Regions from separate parts of the Homo sapiens genome. Here region 2 is linked to region 1. The links are contacts of gene promoters, found by promoter capture Hi-C in human tissues and cell types (Jung and others, 2019). All regions are on one chromosome and are shown on one strand. Each heading gives the region's core, a stretch centred on a gene start or on the middle of the fragment in contact. The rest is flanking DNA. Distances are from core to core; before and after follow the strand shown.

Evidence for each region. The method cuts DNA at HindIII sites, captures the fragments that hold promoters and counts their contacts. A contact is called where the count stands out against the background at its distance.
Region 2: a fragment that was not itself captured here is called in contact with the fragment with the promoter of POU2F3 in region 1 in 2 of the 25 tissues and cell types used here (dorsolateral prefrontal cortex and thymus).

What each region holds. Positions count from the first base shown.
Region 1 is chr11:120,238,873-120,242,396 of GRCh38, forward strand. It overlaps POU2F3 (POU class 2 homeobox 3), which reads left to right and starts at 1,268. Exons shown (of 13, transcript NM_014352.4): 1 at 1,268-1,499. The coding sequence starts at 1,472. The HindIII fragment of the contact is 19,243 bases long and covers 1-3,524 here.
Region 2 is chr11:119,589,804-119,593,772 of GRCh38, forward strand. No RefSeq gene overlaps it. Among named protein-coding and RNA genes, the nearest start is that of NECTIN1-AS1, 120 kb to the right of the region's middle. The HindIII fragment of the contact is 7,169 bases long and covers 1-3,969 here.

The DNA.
Region 1 (3,524 bases), core at 18-2,517:
TCTCTAAGCCTCATTTTCCCCATCTATAAAATGGCAATAATCATAGTACAATGTACAGGTTTTGAGGACTAAACAAGAACTAAAGGCACGAAAGATGCCTTTCAAGTGTTGGTCACCCCAGTGCTTGATACACAGTGAAGGCACACGAAATGCTGGGTGTTATCGTGGGCATGACTGGAGTGCACGGTGGGATGGGCGTGCCAGGGGGAAAGGACACTGTAAACAAGGTGTAGAGGCAGGAAAGCCCAAAACCTGTTCTGTGCTCAGAAAGTAGCCCATGGGACTAAGGAGAAGACATGTTCATGAGGAGTCCTGTCTGGGAAGGAAAGCGAGGCCCTGCCCTCCTGTCTGCACACAGCTTTCTGGGCTTCCATGCAGGCCATCCTGTGGTGACAGACCACTTACTGGGACTTGAAGAGACGAAGAGAAAGGGGTGAGCCTATGATGGGTGCTGCAAAGAGCACTGGAGTGGGAGTCCAGAGACCTGATTCCAGCCAGGCTCTGTCACTAGGGAAGTGTGCACCTTTGAGCAAGCCGCTTCCCCGCTCTGGAAGGTGGCTGTCACCAAAAGCCTGGGCACTGGTAACTTCCACATCCATCATCTCGTAGAGCCTCACAGCAACCTGGGACCTGGGGCGGGAGACTGGAGGGGCAAGCAGGAAGCAGTTGTGTGCACCTGGAAACTCTGCTAATAATAAACTGCACCCCGTCTAAATCCCACAATGCTGTGAGGATGCCATGGGGGCTAGGTGAGCTTGGTCACCTGCTCAGCCCAATAGGGAACCCGATTAGCACCTGTCCTGTTTTACAGGTGAGTTAAATGAGCTCAGGGAGGTGAAGAACCTTGTCCCAGCCACACTGCTGGTAAGCGGTTGGGAGGCGAGATTCCAAAACTGAATTCTTTCCAGCAGACCCCCGCGACTTCTCCAAACACTCCAACTCCTTGCAGCGCTTACACTTCGCGATCTGTCCAGAAGGAAGCTCGGGCTCAGGCTGGAGAACCCGCCAGGGCTTCCTAAAAAGGGCGAGCAGGACCAGGAGTTGGCGCCACTCCGGGCGCGGTGAGGAGGTGCTGCCAGGCTGGGTTGGAGCAGGCAGGTGTTCCGCGGGATCGAGACCCGCCCCGGCAGCACCCCCGGCCCCCTCCCCAGGTCCCCAGCTCCATGTATGCAAATCACTGCTTTGCATGGGCCTGGGGCCAGGCGCGGGGCTCCTGCCAGGGGGCGTGGCCGGCGGCCCCCGCCCCGCGCCGCGTGCTCACCTGGGGAGTGTGGCAATCCTGGCGGCGCCGAGTGTTGCCCGGGCCGGAGCAGCGGAGCGCGCGACAGTGGCGGCGACGGCTCCGGCAGCGGCTCCCGCGGCGGCGGCGGCCGGGAACTGGAGGAAGGAGACCCTGGCTTCGCAGGGGCCCCGGCTGGGGCAGAGGCGAGGGGCCTGGGGGGGCGCTGGCTTTGGCCCCGCCTGGGGCAGGATGGTGAATCTGGAGTCCATGCACACAGGTGAGGGGCGGAGGGAATGAGCTCTGACAGGTGTCACTGCGCGTGGGCAGGGGTGAAGGAGAGGGACAACGTTCTGGTTAGGGAGGGGGGCTTGTTTCCCAGCGGCCAGGAGAGGGCGGTGTGGATAGCGGGTTGTCCTGGGGTGGGTGCCGGTCAGTATTTGGGGACTAAAGGGAGGGGATCTGGGATAAGAAACCCTGGAAAAGAATGAGGGTGGGGGCTGGTGAAGGGCGGGAGGGCTTCGAAGCCCCCGGTCTGGGGAGTGGCAGTTGTATGGGACGTGGGTGTACTGAACTGTCATAGTCTCAGGAGGTTGCAGGGATGGGTGGTTCACTCACTCAGCCAGGGGTGTGGACCTGGGAGTGCATAAGTGAGGGAAATGTGTATGTCCACATGCTGTGTGCTGGTGTCCGGGCATATGTGTGAAATGGAGGCAAAGCGGACATTTAGGTGGTTGGGGGGCTTAGGAGAAGTGGCTGAGGTGGGGCAATTACAGAGGTGCCCCTGGGGCAGGGGCCATGCCCCCATGTGTTTGAGAAGGGATGGTGACAGACACATCCTCTGGGTTCCATGTCCCATGCCTTCCTTCCCTAAGGGGTGGAAACCTAGGAGATGCAAATGCTTTGCCGGGAGTCAGGCTTCCCTGAATGAATGAATGAGAGGTGGGCATGGAGGGAACCCAGCCCCTCCATTCACCTTGCTGTTCCTCCTTCCACAGCTGGGCTAAGGCAGGAGCTGCCAGGCAGCCAGGTTGGGCTTGGCTTGGGGCTTCCTGTTAGGGTGGGCCTTCTGGAGGTCACAGGGCCTGAGCAAAGAACAAGTGAAGAAAGCGGTACCTGACCTGGCCATTTCTAACCTAGCAACTTACTCTCAAAGTGGGCAGGACCCAGTGATCTTTCTTTAGGATTTCGGGGCTGTTGATGGGAATGTTGTTACCTGGTCTCCTTTCTGGGAGAGTAGGGAGGAGGCAATGCTCCAGACCCACCCCAAGAAGCAGAGCAGGCCTGAGGCCTACCCAGCCTGAAAACAAGCGTCAGTGAGTGCCCGGAGGGAGGGGACCTGGAGTGCCCAGTTCCCCAGATGCTGTTTCCTGGCAGGGCTGAGTGAGAGGCAGACTGGCAGTGAGATGTTGGCACTGAGTGGCTCTCCAGGACGTGCCAGAAAGGCTAGGTGAGGCGGAAGAAGCCATCCAACTGGGTGTCATCCAGAGTCTGAGGAAAGTCTGTTTCTAGACTGGGCATACCTGGGGCAGATCCCCGGGTAGGTGCTCTCCCCTTCACTGCCCGCAGAGAAGGCCAGGGTTTGAATGGGAGCAAGTCTCTTCAGAAAGGTGGGCTTAGCAGTGGATGGGAAGTTTTTTAGCACCAAGATCACAGACTTCCTGGGGGTTTTCCACCTCCTTGTCTACTGGAGGCTCCCATTCTGTGGAAGTGGGAGGGGGTGGGACAGTTGGGACCCAGCAGGGAGGCAGCCTGGGGCCTCAGAGGATATAGCAGAGAGCAGAGAACACCAGAGGATGAGGTTGAGGCATAGGGCTTGGCCTCTATGCCTTCCCCAGGAGTGAGCTCCTGGCTGATGCTTCTCAGAAGCCCAGACACCTTCTCCACCCTGTCCCTGTGAGCAGGTATTCCCGACACATGGGGGGAGACTGAGCTAAACCCCAGGTGGGGTGATTCCTCAGGGCGGGATCTCCATGTACCTGGGGGTAGATTGCCCAATTCATCTCTCTCCATTTGCCTGCTCCCTCCCCAGCCCATTCCCCCCTCAGGGCTACCTGGCCTCCCTGTGCAGTTTCTGGGTCTTGGCCCCTCTGTAGTGTCTGAGGGTTCCCCTTCAGTGGCACCTCCAGAGGTCTCTGAGTTTAGGACTTTCTGTCCCATCTCTCTAACTGGGTCTCTATTAGAGGGCTCTCTTTGCTGGGTCCTCCTGGTGGCCTTTACTGTTCAAGATCTTCTTTGTAGGGTCTTCCAGTGCGCACCCTGCTGTGGGGTCTGTGAAGGAGGATCGCTCTTCCCTCTATGGAAT
Region 2 (3,969 bases), core at 428-2,927, 650 kb before region 1:
AGACTTGGGCCTCTAGGACTCATTCCAGTGAGGACCCTCTGAGCACTCATGAAAGCTTTCATGGGAGTCTGCAGGAGGGAAGGAGGGTGGAGGAGGGGCAGGATCTCTTCAAAGGGCAAATTAATGCATGCCAAGCTAACACATGCCAAGCACCATTACTGAGCATCCCCTGAATGCCCATATTTGCTGGACATTTCACAGGAGCCAAGACAACTCTGATGGGTTTTACAGTCATTGGAGATGATAAGTAAACCTTCCTTCAAACAGAGAAATAATGGGAAATAATGGGAAACAGATTGCAGTACACACAATTGGAGAAGGAAGGAAGCTGTTTTCAGAGCCCTAGGCCCATCCCATCAAACAATGGTGCTCCAAGGGTAAATTGAGTTCTCTTTGGCTGGGCAGAGAGCATGAGGCCAAGAGGGAAAGATATTGGGGTGCCGAGCATCACAGCAGGCTCCCTTTCTGCCTTCCCACACCAGTCCCCTGACACCGACTGGATGTCACTCAATTCAATTCAATTCAATTCAATTCAATTCAATTCAATTCAATTCAATTCAATTCAATCCAATTCAATTCTGACATCAGCTACCTGGCGTTAGCACAAATCCCACAGGTTAAGGGGCTTAGTCCCGCAAGACTGCCCACTTCAGGTACCAACTACAAGTCCTGGGTGTCCTCAAGCCACTCACACTTCTGCCTGCCCAGCTATAAATTCGGGGGTTCCTCTACACCCTCATTTTGGGTTGATAAAGAATGACTCAGAGAACTCACTGGAAGCATTATATTTACAATTACCATTTTATTGTAAAAGATACAAATAAACAGCCTGATGAACATGCACACACAGCAAGGTCTGGAAGAGTCCCAAGCACAAAAGCTTCTGTTGGAGTCAGGGTGTGCCACCCTTCTGGTATGCCAATATTAGTATGTTTACCAACCAGGAAGTTCTCCAAGCCTTGTTGTTCAGAGTTTCTGTTGAGGTTTCATTATGTAAGCATGATTGATTTAATCATTGGCCATGTGACTGGACTCCATCTCCATCTTTTCCTGGAGGTGGAAGGGAGAGGGGAGGGGCTGAAAGTTCCAACTCTTTAATCCCTTGGTTGGTTTTCCTGAGAACCAGCCTCTGTTCTGAAACTGTCTAGGGGATCTGCTGTGAGTCATCTCATTAGCATAAACTCAGGTGTGGCTGAAAAGGGCTCATTATGAATAACAAAAGACATTCCTGTCATTCAAACTTCTGAGGGTTTTTGAAGCTCTGTGCCAGGAACCTGGGACAAAGACTAAATATATTATTTTTGACTTTATCCCACTTTCCTACTCACAGAGAAGAAGGAAGAGAATGGGGGAGCATCCTGAGTGTTTCGTGACTTCATTGTGGGAGGAGGCGCCGGAACTGTATGAGTGGTTGAAGGAAAGTATGAAGAAAACAGAATCACAGATCATCTTTACTTAACTGGAGGTCTATCCTACAGAAGAGGGAGCCTCTGCCAGGAGGAATTTGGACCAATGAGCGAAAGTAATGGGAAACCAGTTTTCAGCAGGAGCTGATAGGGTGGGCTGCCTTGAGAAGTAATAAGCTCCTAGAGAATATTTTAACAGAGCTGAATGCAAGTTCCATGTGAGCATCAACTCAGTCGGACTTGACTTCTGCTGTGTGCCTGGGGCCTGAATATTACCTGACAAACAGTAGATGCTTACTAAATATTTGGTAAATATTTGTTGAATGCACATTTGTGGAGGAGAAGGGAAGGTAGTTTAAATAACATGAAAACCTAGGCCCAGTCATAAGTCTTTAGTATCCAGCCGTTGTGCTGGCTTTTGAGGCAAAAAACAAAAAAACAAAAAATTCTTCTTAAGAAGCTCACCACAGTAAGTGCTGTAAGTGGGGAGATAGACATTTATGTCTAGAGCAAAGTTTAATAACAAACAAATCAGTTCCAGTTAAAGATGGCAAGTTGAACCCATTCATTAGTTTACACTCCCCAAAGCCCATGGAAATAACAGTAAAAGGATTTTATTAAAAGGCATAAGCCCATCAGTTCAAAGGTGGAATGCAGATGGAGACTTCCAGTAAAGATGGTGAATTGAATGCACACAATTCATCTTGCTCTTCTTGAAAACCCTAAAGTGACTATAAAGGGATTTTTTAAAAATCAGAAACCCATAAAGGTGGAGATGAGACAGAAATTCGGCAGGACTTGTTTTACAAGATGCGGGTCACAAGGACACTGCTGATAAAACAGGATGTGGCAAAGAAGCCAGTCAAAACCTGCCAAAACCAAGATGGCAACAAAAGCAATCTCTGATTGTCCTCACTGCTCATTATATGCTAATTACAATGCATTAGCATGCTAAAGGCACTCTCACTAGCGCCATGACAGTTTACGAATGCCATCGCACATCCAGAAGTTACCTTATATGGTCTAAAAGAAGGAGGAACCCTCAGTTCTGGGAAATCTCTGCCCCTTTCCTGGAAAACTCATGAATAATCAACCCCATATTTAGCATATAATCAAGAATTAACTATAAATATAGCCGGCCAACAGCCCTCAAAGGCTGCTCTGCCTATGGAATAACCACCTTTTATTCCTTTAGTTTTCTTCTTTTTTTTTTTTTTGAGATGGAGTTTTGCTCTGTTGCCCAGGCTGGAGTGCAGTGGCACGATCTTGGCTCACTGCAACCTCCGCCTCCTGGGTTCAAGTGATTCTCCTGCCTCAGCCTCCCCAGTAGCTGGGATTACAGGTGCACGCCACCACGCCCTGCTAGTTTTTGTATTTTTAGTAGAGATGGGGTTTCTCCATGTTGGCCAGGCTGGTCTGGAACTCCTGACCTCAGGTGATCCACGTGCCTCGGCTTCCCAAAGTGCTGGGATTATAGGGGTGAGCCACCGTGCCCAGCCTATTCCTTTACTTTCTTAATAAACTTGCTTTCACTTTATTCTGCTTGCTCTTGAATTCCTTCCTGTGCTTGAATTTCTTCCTGCACAAAGCCAAGAACCCACGTGGCCTCCCGGGCTGAGCCCCAATTTTGGGGTTTGCCCTGTGCCAGAAATAATGGGAGAGAAGACAACAGCAGCCCAAGTTTGGAAACTGTAAAGCAATGAATGAGTAAACTGAGTAGACTGGGAAAAGCTGAAGCCCAAACTGAAAGAGGGGAAAGCTAAAAAGCCAATTCCCACCCCCTTTCTCCAAAACCCCTCCAGAGTCTCAGGCATTGGTGACACTACTGTTGCTGGAAAGTAGAGTGAGGAAGGGAGTTAAATAAGGAGCTCTTGGGCCGGGTGCAGTGGCTCATGCCTGTAATCCCAGCACTTTAGGAGGCTGAGGCAGGCAGATCACTTGAGGTCAGGAGTTTGAGATCAGCCTGGCCAACATGGTGAAACGCTGTCTCTACTAAAAATACAAAAATTAGCCAGGTGTAGTGGCAGACACCTGTAATCCCAGTTAATTGGGAGGCTTAGGCAGGAGAATCACTTGAACCTGGGAGGTAGAGGTGGCAGTGAGCCAAGACTGCACCACTGCACTCCAGCCTGGGTGACAGAATGAGGTGCTGTCACAAACAAACAAACAAACAAAAACAGAGACTGGGTAATTTATAAAGAAAATAAATTTATTTTTTATAATTCTGGAGGTTGGGAAGTCCAAGAACATGGTGTCATCATCTGCTCAGTTTCTGCAAGGGCCTTCTTGCTGTGTCATAGCATGGTGGAGGGCATCACATGGCAAGAGGGCAGGAGCATACATGTCAGTTCAGGTCTCTTTTCCCTGATGGGACTGGTGGCTTTATAAGAAGGAGTTTCACTCTGATGATCTTACTTAATCCTAAGAATCTCCCAAAGGCCCCACCTCCAATTGACATATAAATTTGAAGACTGTTTCCAACACGTGAAACTTGGGGAACAGATTCAAACCATAGCAGTGGCTGGGCACAATGGCTCGTGCCTGTAATCTCAGCACTTTGGGA